5 separate regions of the Homo sapiens genome follow, and regions 2, 3, 4 and 5 are each linked to region 1. Evidence: promoter capture Hi-C in 16 types of primary human blood cells and fetal thymus (Javierre and others, 2016). All regions are on one chromosome and are shown on one strand. The core of a region is centred on a gene start or on the middle of the fragment in contact, and the rest is flanking DNA. Distances in the headings are between cores, read along the strand shown. Region 1 holds the start of RHOT1 (ras homolog family member T1). Region 2 holds the start of UTP6 (UTP6 small subunit processome component). Region 3 holds the start of SUZ12 (SUZ12 polycomb repressive complex 2 subunit). Region 4 overlaps C17orf75 (chromosome 17 open reading frame 75). Region 5 overlaps SUZ12 (SUZ12 polycomb repressive complex 2 subunit).

Region 1 (2,740 bases), core at 114-2,613:
CGAGATTGCGCCACTGCACTCCAGCCTGGGCGACAGAGCGAGACTCCGTCTCAAAACAAAACCAAAACAAAACAAAAAATCTGTGGATTACAACTTTTTAGTGACTTTTTAATATAATAATGATAGCTGAGATCAGTAGAGCACACGCTCTGAGTCTGGCACTGTACCAAATGCTTGACAAGTATTATAGTATTTATTACTCACAACCATCTCAAGAGGAAGGTATTATCATCATTATTTCCATGCTACAGAAGAAGGAACAGTGGCTGAGGGAAGTAAAAATAAAAGCACTTAGTCGAGATCACAGAGCTATTATGTGGAGCCTAGATTCAAACCCAGGAAATTTGCCAGCAACTCTTAACTGCTGCAAGAGACCACATGACTTCTCCTAGGAGAAAGGGAAGTTGGTATTACGCACATTTCATTCCCTTTAAGTGTTTATTGTGTAATATTTAAGATAGAAAAAATGTACATTATGCACAGATAGTGCTTCCTCATTAATTTATGTATTTTATATTTCCCACTGTGTGCCAAGTATTAGGGATGTGATATATATTCGCACGCGTATGTATATATATATATTTGCCATTGTGTACCAAACATTAAGCATGTAACAACAAATTCCTCCAGATGGAGAGGGTCACGAGAAAATTAAGGCAATGTTAGAAAAATCATCTAGAGTTTATTATCGAGTGCCACCTCCGTGTCTAGCATTACGCTGGGTAAGCCTGAGTAAAGAAGAGTGTCCGAAAACCCTGCCATAAAATAAACTACATAGACAGAAAAAAAGTCACTTAGTTTGGTTATAAAGAAAGGAGTCTTGTTCACACAGCGTAAAAACGAATCTTATAATCGTATTTTATAAGCATCAGAGGCAAAAGCAACTAGGGTGACGGGCTTTGGGGAGTGGAAAGCGCCGGATCCTGGGAGCCAGTCGCCCTACTCGATCAAGCATTTTCTGACGGCCCTATCCAATAACGTGGGGACGCAGCTGAAAACCATGCAAGCTGATCGCTGCCCTCCCGGAGTTTATGGTCTGGTGAGAAGATCCCTGCTCTGAGTCACTGCCAAGCTCTAGCTATGTGACTTTGAACAGGGAATTTCTGTCCCTATCTATAAAATAAACGGGGTTAAACCAGGGAATCCGCCATTCAAATTCCTGGCCCAAGTGTCTCCGGGGTCGCGGTGCCCAAAGGAGGGTGGGCGAGGCTCCCTGGGCCTGCGCTGCGGCGGCCTGACAGCGGGAGCGCTGTTCCGGCGCAGAGCGCGTTCGCGTTCCGAAAGCGCGTGTCCCTCGCCGCGTGCCGTCGTCCCCGCCGCCGCCGCCGCCGCCGCCGCCGCCGCCGCCGCCGCCGCCGCCGCCACAGCCCGCTGGGCCGGAGGAGGCGGAGCTGGCGCTGTCCCGGCTCTCTTGCGGGGAAGCAACTGAGGGGGCGGCGCGGCGGGCCCCGGCGGCCGAAGAGGCTGGCAGGTGGCGCCGTGGGGTGGGTGCTCCTGGTGAGAGGAGTCCACTCCGTGCGTGCGGGCGGAGGCCGGCCCCCGAGAGCCGCCGACATGAAGAAAGACGTGCGGATCCTGCTGGTGGGAGAACGTGAGTCCGCACCCTCTGGCCGGCCCCTGAGTCCCTGCCCTCCCTGCCCCTGCAGCCCCTGTCGCCCCTGTCGCCCCTGCAGCCCCAACCTTTGCAGCCCCGGCCCTTCTCGCGCCTCACAGCTCCGCTCGCCTTTCTCCGCGTTCCTAGGCCTTCCAGCCCCTTCACTCTTCTCTTTTGGCTGGCCGCCGGCGGCCCTCACCCTGTCACCTCACCTGGGCCCTCCAGAGATCTCCTTTCCCTGTTCCCCAGCCGTCCTCCCAAGCCATGTCCCTATTAGCCCTAACCGCCCGACCTCATCCCTCCGAAGCTTCTCTCCTCCTTTTCCTCTTCGAACCCTGTCCTTCTGGGCCTCACAGTTTCCCAGGCCGCCTCCTTTCAGACCTTCTTGTCTTCTGGAGATTCCCTTATCACTGCCAGGCAGGTGCTGGAATAAGCAGACTGACCAATAGGGATTGCGTGAACCGGCTCCCGGGGAAGCTGGGGGAGGGGTGCAGAACTATTCGACTTGTGGGCAAGGTCAGGTTTCTGCATTTTTTTGGCACTCGCAGTCTTCACTCTCTCTATGTATTGACATTAAGATATGAGTAGTGGAAAGGGCCGGATCCTTTTTAGCAGTACTTGTACTTTGCATTGGACTAACTCCTCGTACTCGAGATATTTCATCAAAAATTTTTACTCAACTTCGAGTTATGCAAGCGCTCAATGAATTAGAATTATCTGGGGAGGGTCCAATTGTTGTTACCCTAAAGCGTAATCTTTGCCCTCTTTTTAAGCATTATTTATTCCATAGTTACTTCGTAGTTAACTTATTAATAACCACAGGCACACAGACATTTGATATCTCCCCCCACCCAGAAATTTCATACATTTCACCTTTTGAAAATATAATAAAGGAGAGTTCCCTCTGTTCACTGACATGAGGACGCAACAGCGGGGACTTCTTGATTTCACTCTGCAAGTTATGTAACTCAGTTGCTAGGACTAAAATAAGAAAGTGGGCCAGGGATAACTGGATTGTTTGTTTTAAAGAGTTAATACATTCGTTAATAGTCTGCCATTGCTGTTTCGAAGCATTCTGTTTTAAACCATTATTTCATTCTTGGTAACCCCTCAGGGTCACCGTGATGGAATCCCAAGGAAGAAAGT
Region 2 (2,740 bases), core at 167-2,666, 240 kb before region 1:
GTATGGTGTTTTTTTTGTTTGTTTTTTTCTCGCTCTGTCGCCCAGGCTGGAGTGCAGTGGCATGATCTTGGCTCACTACAACCTCGGCCTCCCGAGTTCAAGCGATTCTCCTGCCTCAGACTCCCGAGTAGCTGGGACTACAGGCGCTCACCACCACGCTCAGCTAATTTTTGTATTTTTAGTAGAGACGGGGTTTCACCATATTGGCCAGGCTGGTCTCGAACTCCTGACCTCGTGATCCACCCACCTCGGCCTCCCAAAGTGCTGGGATTACAGGCGTGAGCCACAGCGCCTGGCTGGTATTAATAAAGACTTCTTTTACTCCAAGTTCAGGTCACTTAAATTTTAATAATAAATTTCTTTCCGAAATTCCTCTTATTTCTGAGTTCTCAACATGTAAATTTTTTTAAAAATCTAAATTGCGTCTGCCTTAAAAGACTTATTACTACGAAGGACTTACGGGAGAAGATTCAGAGTCCTTAGCTAAGGAATGAACATATGACAAATATATATTAGGAGAATTTAATGCAAGATGTGCAAGACAGGTGTCTTTAGTAATGGTAACATTAACCTTAACTGAGCACTTTCTAAGCGTCCACACTGCTTTGTTTTGTGTTTCATTAACGAATGCTTACTTTGAAGCTCTGAGTCACATTACTACATTCAGACGTTGCAAAACAAAGCAACAGTCACAGAAACCATTAAAAACTATTAAACATAATTTTAACACGCTACTGAATGTCTACCATGTGCCAGGCGCTGTAGTTAGGCTCTGGAGTAGCATATGAAACTGATTTCAATGGTCCCCACCTTCAAGTCTAGTTAGGAATTTATCCACTCCCCCTGGGCTCTCACAGCACTCTGTTCCCATCCCTACAGCAGTACAAGGTACTACAATCAACTTACAGTACACTGTTATCAAAATATTTAATTTGTCTGTCTCCCCCACCACACTCTGCCCAATTAGCTCCTAATGAGCAGGAATCCTGGGTTTATCACCTTTACAGCCCTAAGACCCGGCTCCATGAAGGGCTGTCAAAACGTCTGATGGGTAAGTAGACGGACGGATTACCTTGCAACGAATGAAAAATTAATTCTGGACATCACCGAAAACGAGAAATGGGCTTCCACCACGTTAGGAAAAGTAAACACAGGTCGAGCGTCCCCACATCTAGCCCCTGCCACACACTCCCAACCTCCCCTCAGGCCGCCTCAGCTCTTCCCTCTCCCCAACCCTCTCTCACTTAATCTCCGCATGACTGAACAGTCCAATGCGCTCCAGCTGTTCCAATTCCGGGAGCCGATCTTCTATGCGTTCCTGAATTATCTCTGCCATGAGGTCCGAGGTCTACAACCCCGCGGGTAGCTTCTCAACAGCGAACACGAGCAGGAAGCTCCCGGTTTCAGGTTCGGAGACCCAGCCCTACCACCGACGCGTCCGGACGTAACGTGCTCCCTAGGTCCCGCCTTTTCCGCTTCCGCCACCTCCTACTTAGGGGAAGGCCCTTCGGCTTCTACAGCCACCGTCCCCTCCCTGTGGCCGATTGTGGGATTGCAGCGAGAACCCGCCCTGGTCTTGGGCAGGACGACTCTAGCGGACAGGAGTTGAGGGGCGGGGCTAGACGGGAGGGAGGGGTTAAGTGCGCGCGCCGCTAGACTTGGACAGCCATCAGGAAAAGCGCCTCCAGGTGTAGAGAGGTGGGCTGCTCAAGCCTGAAAGGGACACGAGATGCATTTTCTTCAGAATATTGTCTCCCATCCCACGTCCTGACTTCCCAACACCAAGAACAACAACAAAAAAAAAAGCAAAGGAGGAGGATATTGTACAATTAAACATTTTTGAAAGCCGGTCGCGGTGGCTCATGCCTGTAATCCCAGCAGTTTAGGAGGCCGAGGCGGGCAGATCACCTGAAGTCAGGAGTTCGAGACCATCCTGGCTAACATGATGAAACCCCGTTTCTACTAAAAATGCAAAAAAATTAACTGGGCGTGCTGGCACGCGCCTGTAATCCCAGCTACTCGGGAGGCTGAGGCAGGAGAATCGCTTGAACCTGGGAGGCCGAGATCGCGCCATTGCACTCCAGCTTGGGCAACAAGAGTGAAACTCCGTCTCTAAATAAATAAATAAATAAAATAGAATTGTTTATTATTTAAATCAATATCCTGTCTTTGTAAGCAATAGCTTTCAAAATATATGTCCCTAGGTGAATATCAGACACTATAAATTCTTTTTAGAAAAGGAGATTTTTGTATTGAAAAGTTTGAGAATTACCAAAATAAATCACTAAGGTATAGACACCCTCCTTAAACCATTGCCCAAGCAACTTAGCATTTCTAAGAGAAACACCAGGCAACACAGCTTGGAGGCAATATTGCTGGTATAGTTAGTAAACCTCAAATGATAACTACATGGTTCAGTTCTTTTTTAGTTCTGGATATAAAAAAGCCAAAGCAGCAGTTCTTGCTAAATCTGCTTATTTCAACATTCACATTAGCACCTGGATCCTGTGTGTGATTTATGAAAGGAGAATGGGCTCAGCAAAACCATGTTCCACCTCTGTGCCTTGCATTTCTTTCTTTCCTTTCACATTTTACCCACTCATCTCAGAACTGAGACGAGGGTTGGCTTGTGCTACACCATTTCTTGAATCCTTCAGCTGTAAGACATGTCAGAAGTGGAAGGAAATCACGAATGTAAGACAAAGATAGAATTTATTTGTAAAAGTAAAATCTCTGGGGC
Region 3 (2,740 bases), core at 94-2,593, 210 kb before region 1:
ATTTCTCTCGGGAGGCCAAGGTTGCAGTGAGCCAAGATCGCGCCCTTGCACTCCAGCCTGGGTGACAGAGCGAGAATCCGTCTCAAAAAAAAAAAAGACTACAGAGGATAGTGTAACAAACAAGAGGGGATTCTGAACTTTTTGTCTGAATATAAAATATAGCTTGTCCTTAACAACAGGCATTCCTTATTTCAGGTAAGAAGGTATACCTAATTTCAGATGTGTTCCTGAAATGCCAAATACTATATACGTCATTTGCAGAGATCACTTTCTTAAGTAGCAAAGGCTTTGATAAAACCTGTACTTTAGGTATTTAATCATTACAAAGATAACTAGTTTTGTAAACAACTTGAATAACCATTCCAGAGACACTTGTTTTGTAAACAGTGTTTTGCAGTTAACTATAGAGAACCCAAGTAGACATTTAAAAAATGCTGTTTAGAGTATGAAATGGTTCTATGTTTATAGGTTGGGATTTTTGAAATTTTAACGTAATATAAAAATTGGAAGAACATCCTTAGAGATCATCTTGTCCAACCTGAAATTCAAATCATTAGCTCAACTCCAAACCAATCTGTGCCAGAAGACTGAAATGGGCCTATGTGTCTATCGTTCAAAGCAAGACCTGGCCAGGCGCGGTGGCTCACGCCTGTAATCCCAGCACTTTGGGAAGCCGAGGCAGGTGGATCACGAGGTCAGGAGATCGAGACCAGCCTGGCCAAAATGGTGAAACCCTGTCTCTACTAAAAACACAAAAAATTAGCCAGGCGTGGTGGCGAGCGCCTGTAATCCCAGCTACTCTGGAGGCTGAGGCAGGAGAATCGCTTCAACCCGGGAGGCGCAGGTTGTAGGGAGACGAAGTCGCGCCACTGGCACTCCAGCCTGGGCGACAGAGGGAGGCTCCGTCTCAAAAAAAAAAAAAAGCAAGACTCGCAAAACACCGGATTCCTTCTCAGCTTTCTGAGCTGAAAAGGTATAGATCCTAAAGAAGAGAAGAGTGTATGTAAGTACTTCTCAACCAGTTTACCTCTCTGACCACTCTTACGGTGTTTGGGGGCAACAAACTAAGGATCTAGACTCGCTAAACCGCTCGCTGGGTCCTTCTCTCCCCACAATGCACCGGGGCCAGCAGGAAGGCCGCTCCGACCCCTAATTTTCCCGCGAATTCAGTTCAAAGAGGCGGCCGGGCCCGCGATCGGCAGCGCGCACGGGCCAACCAAGCCGCGCCTCCGCGAGAAGCGCCTCCGCGTGACTGACGGGGGAATCCGCGGGCCAACGGGCTGGGCGGCCCGGCGGTGCGCGCTCCCGCCGGCCAATCAGAGCGCCGGGCGGGGGAAGTGGGCGGAGCGAGGCCAGGGTAGGGTGAGCGGCCTCCGAAGCGGAGCGGGGCTCTGAGGAGACACTTTTTTTTTCCTCCCTCCTTCCCTCCTCTCCTCCTCCCTTCCCTTCCCCTCTCCTCCCCTCTCTCCTCCTTCCCCCCTCGGTCCGCCGGAGCCTGCTGGGGCGAGCGGTTGGTATTGCAGGCGCTTGCTCTCCGGGGCCGCCCGGCGGGTAGCTGGCGGGGGGAGGAGGCAGGAACCGCGATGGCGCCTCAGAAGCACGGCGGTGGGGGAGGGGGCGGCTCGGGGCCCAGCGCGGGGTCCGGGGGAGGCGGCTTCGGGGGTTCGGCGGCGGTGGCGGCGGCGACGGCTTCGGGCGGCAAATCCGGCGGCGGGAGCTGTGGAGGGGGTGGCAGTTACTCGGCCTCCTCCTCCTCCTCCGCGGCGGCAGCGGCGGGGGCTGCGGTGTTACCGGTGAAGAAGCCGAAAATGGAGCACGTCCAGGCTGACCACGAGCTTTTCCTCCAGGCCTTTGAGAGTGAGTGTGTGCGAGGCTTTGAGGGCAGGAAGACCCACTCTGCCAACACCGGGGATGGGACACTCTGCTGGGCCCCCTTCCTCCTCGGGAGTCCACTTGTGTGGTAGTGGAGGGAGGAATTGAGGGGATGTCCCCCTTTCGGAGATTACGTCTCCAGGGGATCCGGAGTCCAGGGCCTTGGGAGAGCTGGAAAAGAGGGTCCGGGCGGGTTCTTGACTCCCCCAAGATTGACGCAAGAGGCTCGGGACTGGGGCCCCACGTTCAGAGCAGGCGGCTTTTAGATGAGGAGGTAGCAGTTGAACTGAGCCGCAGTCACATCCCGAGACTGGTTCTTGTTTTCTTTCATGCCTTTCGGACTCTAGAAATACAGGGGTTTCGGTTGTAGCTTTTGAGGGGCAAAATGAAGCCTGTGAAGGGATGAGTGCAGTGGAACCGAAGAAAGTGTCCTTAGTCTGAAATGCCTTCGCGCTAACTTGGTGCTGCAGGTTCCTATGGCACCTTTGGATGCTTAAAACCCTTCAAATCTATCCACCCATTTTGTGGATATGTAAACTGAGCCAGAGAGTGGTCAAGCATCTTCTCTGGAGACGACCCCGGAATTCTGCTTTTTCTACCTGGCTTACAGAACATTTTCTTGCGTCAATTTCTGTTTCTAAGTTCTGTCTGGAAGGTGAAACTGACTTATTTGGAAAGGAGAGCAAGGTGTCTGGAAACAAACAATAGAATTTATTAAAAACATCGTGACTATGAATAATCCTGATTGTTCTTTAAGGAATGTTATATCCTGATTGGTTCCCTTTTTTGCTTTTGTGTGTTATAATTTGGGTGATCTTTAATAGCTAAATAATCTTACAGAAACTTGAATAAACTTGGCTCTACCGCC
Region 4 (2,740 bases), core at 141-2,640, 190 kb after region 1:
GAGATGGGGTTTCACCATATTGGCCAGGCTGGTCTCAAACTCCTGACCTCAGATGATCCACCTGCCTCAGCCTCCCAAAGTGCTGGGATTACATGTGTGAGCCACTGCGCCTGACCCATTTATTTCTTTATAAAAACACCTATAATGAATTATTTAAGACATGTATAATGGCCTAAAAAAACAGTGTGCTCACCACATGGCTAAGGAATACCAAAATGGCTGAAGCCCCCTGTATGCCCCTTCCCAATCACATCCCCCTTCCTTTCCCATCAGAGAGGATAATCATTCCCACAGACGTCTTTAAACTTTTCCCATATACCTTTGCACGTGTAAGCCTTATCTACATTATTCTGCATATGTTAAAACTTTTATGTATTTTTTCTTTTATGGCTATTTCACTAAATAGTATGTTTGAGAGCTATATTGACACAAGTAGCTCTAGTTCATTCTTTTTCACTGCTCTGTTATATTCCATTGCATGAATATAGCAGCTTATCAGTTTTCTTGTTGATAAACACTTAAATTGCTTCCAATTCCTTGCTTTTTCAAGTAATGCCTTTATGGACATTTTAAAATTCATCTCCTTGTGTACACATACTAGAATTTCTTTATGTACCTAGGTGTGGAATTGCTAGGCATGGCATGATTTCCATGTTTCTAGAATTATATTGTTTTCACCAAGTGGTTTCTCATGGTTTGAGATAACCATGTAAAACTGCACAAGGCAGGAAGAATAAGGTTGTATCATAGGCTCTCAGTGCAAAGATGGGGACTCGCAAGAGATGTAGGAAGGCTGCTTCAGAGGTTGTAGCTCACCTGCATTGCAGAACTGAGGCTGGGAGCTGCTGCAATCGATGACCACAGACTTATGCTGCTCCTCTGTCATGGCCATGCACAAAGAAGTCATGGTGCCTTCATGAATAAGTCCTTGAAGACTGGCCACACTCAGAAACCTGCCACACACACAAGTCCATTTCCACAAACAATATTGCAGGACGGAAGGATGAAAACAAATTTATTTTGCACTGGGCTGGTGGGGAAGGGATGGAAGGAGCAGTTTACAAACACAGATGTCAATCTTGCTGTGGAAAAGCTTTTCTCTTTGAAAAAACTGTTCTTTACCTGTTAATGTCTCTCTTTGTTTTTTCATCTGATTCTTTAACTTCAACAGGAGTGTAACTCAAAGCCTATGAGAGAAAAATAAAGCCTGATTGGTACATATATTCCAGTTTTTCTTGAGCAGCTACTCATGACTAAATGTCCCCATAAGTCCCTACCACACTGGACAACAATTGATGGGCACTGGTCACAAGCTCTCCAGAGCCTTGTTCAGCCACTGCTCATTAACATTTTATAGAATCAAAATTGCTCTGGATTTTTGTTTTCCTTTTCAAATTGTTTTGGAAACTATACCTTTCCCAGATCACTTGGAAAAGTAATTATTTTAAAATGTTTTATCCTATTAGGAAGACTCAGCATTTGAAATTCAACTCTACCTTAGTAATATCACTTTCTAGATCTGAGAAAATAAAGTGTGGTCTATCTTGATAGCAAGCATAGTTTGAATATTTGGGGAGGGATGGGAGTCATGTTCAGAGAAAATGAGTATGTTTCTAAATCATCCAAAGTGATTCTCAGTTAAGGAAATGCTCTCATTTGGCAGTACTTACAGCATGTAGCAGAAAGGTAAGCTTTTCCTGAAAGAGAAGAACAACCCTTTGGATTGGGCATACAACATCCTCAAACCAGCTGCTCAGATAGGATTTTATGTGACTCTCCAGGCCCCTTGCCTAAATCAAGAAAGAACATCATTTGCTTTAATATAAGCCTTTCCTTTAGTGGACTTCATATTTTCTTCATCATATCCTTGATGGTGAAAAAGACCAGGATAGACACCTCCCTTTTTAAAGCTAACACCACCAATTCAAAAAAAGAAATTGTGATATACCTTTCCTGGCTTGTTGGGCAGGGTGAGGGTTAAATCTGTACTGAATTTATTTAAAACACACCAAGAAATGCATTCTATAAAATGAAGAGACTGAATAGGGTTCCATGCTATTTCTTCACAGGGAAGAGTTGGGCACTCACAAGTCCCTCTCCTCCCACTGTACTGTGCACTCAATGGAGATACTCACTCAATAATCCTCATTTCCCTGGCACCTGTGGTACAGTGTCTAAAACATGCATAGTATGAGCTTATTAAGTGCCTTTTGAATTAGTCATGTAGATAGAGAATTCATTCGTATTCAGAATGTGAATGGGGAAGGATACAAGTAACTCATCAAAGCACTCCACTCCACTCCAGATGTCAGACATGCTACCGTGAGCACATCTGGCTTTCTAGGCTATACTGCTCCCTGAAGACTAGTGTCACACACGAAGAGCTCTAGTCCGGGAGAACAACTCTATTAGACTTGCATCAGTTGCTCACTCCTGCACTATCCCTTCCTCTCTCCTGCAGTATCTTCTAAGTATGTGAAAAGTATAACTTCTACTATATATGTAATGGGTAGTAAATTTGTGAGAGTCATGACTAACAACTGCTACAAGCTGAAAGCATTGTTTTTGTTTGCTTTTTTGAGACAGGGTCTCACTCTGTCATCCAGGCTGGAGTGCAGTGGTGCAATCATAGCTCACTGCAGCCTCAACTTCCCAGGCTCAAGCGATCCTCCCACCTCAGCCTCCCAAGTAGCTGGGACTACAGGTGCGTGCCACCATGCCTGGCTAATTTTTGTATTTG
Region 5 (2,740 bases), core at 171-2,670, 140 kb before region 1:
CTGGGACCACAGGCACCCGCCACCACACCCAGCTGATTTTTTGCATTTTTAGTAGAGACGGGGTTTCACAGTGTTAGCCAGGATGGTCTTGATCTCCTGATCTTGCGATCCACCCACCTCGGCCTCCCAAAGTGCTAGAATTACAGGCGTAATTACCTGGCCCAAATATTTTATGCTTTTAAGACTGCTTATGTAATTGAAGAACAGAAATTATATCTGCTGTTCTAATGGTACCTGTTTAAGCTTAAGTTAGATTAAATCTCTTGAAATTTTTAAAATGGTAAGCTCATTCAGATGATTGAATTTCAGTTTCTCTATAGTTTTACTGCTTCTTTAATCATCTTTTATTTTACTGGAATTGGATATAGTCTTATTATAATGGTTATCACTGTTGCATTTGACAAAAATGCTTTGTATTGCTATTCATATTCTGTTTTTATTAAATAGGTTTATTGCTGACAATCAAATGAATCATGCCTGTATGCTGTTTGTAGAAAATTATGGACAGAAAATAATTAAGAAGAATTTATGTCGAAACTTCATGCTTCATCTAGTCAGCATGCATGACTTTAATCTTATTAGCATAATGTCAATAGATAAAGCTGTTACCAAGCTCCGTGAAATGCAGCAAAAATTAGAAAAGGGGGAATCTGCTTCCCCTGCAAACGAAGAAATAACTGAAGAACAAAATGGGACAGCAAATGGATTTAGTGAAATTAACTCAAAAGAGAAAGCTTTGGAAACAGATAGTGTCTCAGGGGTTTCAAAACAGAGCAAAAAACAAAAACTCTGAAAAGCTCTAACCCCATGTTATGGACAAACACTGAAATTACATTTTAGGGAATTCATCCTCTAAGAATTATGTTTTTGTTTTTAATCATATGTTCCAAACAGGCACTGTTAGATGAAGTAAATGATTTCAACAAGGATATTTGTATCAGGGTTCTACTTCACTTCATTATGCAGCATTACATGTATATCACTTTTATTGATGTCATTAAAACATTCTGTACTTTAAGCATGAAAAGCAATATTTCAAAGTATTTTTAAACTCAACAAATGTCATCAAATATGTTGAATTGATCTAGAAATTATTTCATATATAAATCAGAATTTTTTTGCATTTATGAACGGCTGTTTTTCTACTTTGTAATTGTGAGACATTTTCTTGGGGAGGGAAAATTGGAATGGTTCCCTTTTTTAGAAATTGAAGTGGTCTTCATATGTCAACTACAGAAAAGGAAAAAAATAGAAATTGAAGGATTTTTATGAAATTATATTGCATTACTATTTGCAGTCAAACTTTGATCCTTGTTTTTGAAATCATTTGTCAATTCGGAATGAAAAATTATAATGTAATTTTACATTACATAAGTTCCTTTTACAATTAAAAAATAGCACTTCTTCATCTTATGCCTGTTTGAGAAGATATTAAATTTTCACATTGTTGACAGTGAAATGCTATGTTGGTTTATAAGATTACAGACCATTTGTTTTCATGTGGATAATTTTAGTGCATTGCTCACCCGGTATGTTTTTTTTTTTTAACTTGAACATTTTGCTTGTTTTGTTTTTCTTTTTTAATTAGATAATCACACGGAAAATTAAGCTGTTCATATCTTTAAATTAGGATTGCAAACCAAGGAAAGAACGCATTTGAGATTTTAAGATGTCACTTATAAGGGGAGAAGTGTTCTTAAAAAGTCAACCAGAAAACTGTTATGCCTTTTATTTGTTTGCAAGGATGTCTTTGTAATGTGTTTCATGAATAGAATATCCAATAGAGATAAGCTGACTTGAATCATTTTGAGCAATTTTGCCCTGTGTTATATGTGTTTCACGCACATATTTGCAGTTGGATTTTCTCCAACAGAAAGTGGATTCACTACTGGCACATTAACAAGCACCAATAGGTTTTTATTCCAACTCCGAGCACTGTGGTTGAGTAACATCACCTCAATTTTTTATTATCCTTAAAGATATTGCATTTTCATATTCTTTATTTATAAAGGATCAATGCTGCTGTAAATACAGGTATTTTTAATTTTAAAATTTCATTCCACCACCATCAGATGCAGTTCCCTATTTTGTTTAATGAAGGGATATATAAGCTTTCTAATGGTGTCTTCAGAAATTTATAAAATGTAAATACTGATTTGACTGGTCTTTAAGATGTGTTTAACTGTGAGGCTATTTAACGAATAGTGTGGATGTGATTTGTCATCCAGTATTAAGTTCTTAGTCATTGATTTTTGTGTTTAAAAAAAAATAGGAAAGAGGGAAACTGCAGCTTTCATTACAGATTCCTTGATTGGTAAGCTCTCCAAATGATGAGTTCTAGTAAACTCTGATTTTTGCCTCTGGATAGTAGATCTCGAGCGTTTATCTCGGGCTTTAATTTGCTAAAGCTGTGCACATATGTAAAAAAAAAAAAAAAAAGATTATTTTAGGGGAGATGTAGGTGTAGAATTATTGCTTATGTCATTTCTTAAGCAGTTATGCTCTTAATGCTTAAAAGAAGGCTAGCATTGTTTGCACAAAAAGTTGGTGATTCCCACCCCAAATAGTAATAAAATTACTTCTGTTGAGTAAACTTTTTATGTCATCGTAAAAGCTGAAAAAATCCCTTTGTTTCTATTTATAAAAAAAGTGCTTTTCTATATGTACCCTTGATAACAGATTTTGAAGAAATCCTGTAAGATGATAAAGCATTTGAATGGTACAGTAGATGTAAAAAAAA

What was found. The method cuts DNA at HindIII sites, captures the fragments that hold promoters and counts their contacts. A CHiCAGO score of 5 or more calls a contact.
Region 2: a contact is called between the fragment with the promoter of UTP6 here and the fragment with the promoter of RHOT1 in region 1, in 1 of 17 cell types (naive CD4 T cells). The highest score is 5.1, in naive CD4 T cells.
Region 3: the fragment with the promoter of SUZ12 here is called in contact with the fragment with the promoter of RHOT1 in region 1 in 1 of 17 cell types (activated CD4 T cells); the score reaches 5.5 in activated CD4 T cells.
Region 4: a contact is called between a fragment that was not itself captured here and the fragment with the promoter of RHOT1 in region 1, in 1 of 17 cell types (erythroblasts). The highest score is 5.3, in erythroblasts.
Region 5: a contact is called between a fragment that was not itself captured here and the fragment with the promoter of RHOT1 in region 1, in 15 of 17 cell types (endothelial precursors, megakaryocytes, erythroblasts and 12 more). The highest score is 16.8, in endothelial precursors.

What each region holds. Positions count from the first base shown.
Region 1 is chr17:32,141,139-32,143,878 of GRCh38, forward strand. RHOT1 (ras homolog family member T1) reads left to right here and starts at 1,364. Exons shown (of 20, transcript NM_001033566.3): 1 at 1,364-1,591. The coding sequence starts at 1,555. LOC105371730 (a long non-coding RNA gene) reads right to left here and starts at 1,997. Exons shown (of 2, transcript NR_136413.1): 1 at 1,887-1,997; 2 at 88-1,575. RefSeq lists an enhancer at 695-864 and silencers at 1,325-1,554, 1,585-1,644. The HindIII fragment of the contact is 3,152 bases long and covers 1-1,899 here.
Region 2 is chr17:31,900,292-31,903,031 of GRCh38, forward strand. It overlaps UTP6 (UTP6 small subunit processome component), which reads right to left and starts at 1,417. Exons shown (of 19, transcript NM_018428.3): 1 at 1,245-1,417. The coding sequence starts at 1,336. RefSeq lists enhancers at 892-1,041, 1,085-1,676, 1,362-1,411. The HindIII fragment of the contact is 12,725 bases long and covers 1-2,740 here.
Region 3 is chr17:31,935,664-31,938,403 of GRCh38, forward strand. SUZ12 (SUZ12 polycomb repressive complex 2 subunit) reads left to right here and starts at 1,344. Exons shown (of 16, transcript NM_015355.4): 1 at 1,344-1,857. The coding sequence starts at 1,584. RefSeq lists a silencer at 1,235-1,694 and an enhancer at 1,435-2,020. The HindIII fragment of the contact is 8,448 bases long and covers 1-2,740 here.
Region 4 is chr17:32,333,653-32,336,392 of GRCh38, forward strand. It overlaps C17orf75 (chromosome 17 open reading frame 75), which reads right to left. Exons shown (of 10, transcript NM_022344.4): 6 at 1,671-1,790; 7 at 1,123-1,187; 8 at 817-953. Among named protein-coding and RNA genes, the nearest start is that of C17orf75, 7.2 kb to the right of the region's middle. The HindIII fragment of the contact is 598 bases long and covers 1,092-1,689 here.
Region 5 is chr17:31,998,211-32,000,950 of GRCh38, forward strand. It overlaps SUZ12 (SUZ12 polycomb repressive complex 2 subunit), which reads left to right. Exons shown (of 16, transcript NM_015355.4): 16 at 448-2,740. The coding sequence ends at 793. Among named protein-coding and RNA genes, the nearest start is that of LRRC37B, 7.8 kb to the right of the region's middle. The HindIII fragment of the contact is 1,377 bases long and covers 733-2,109 here.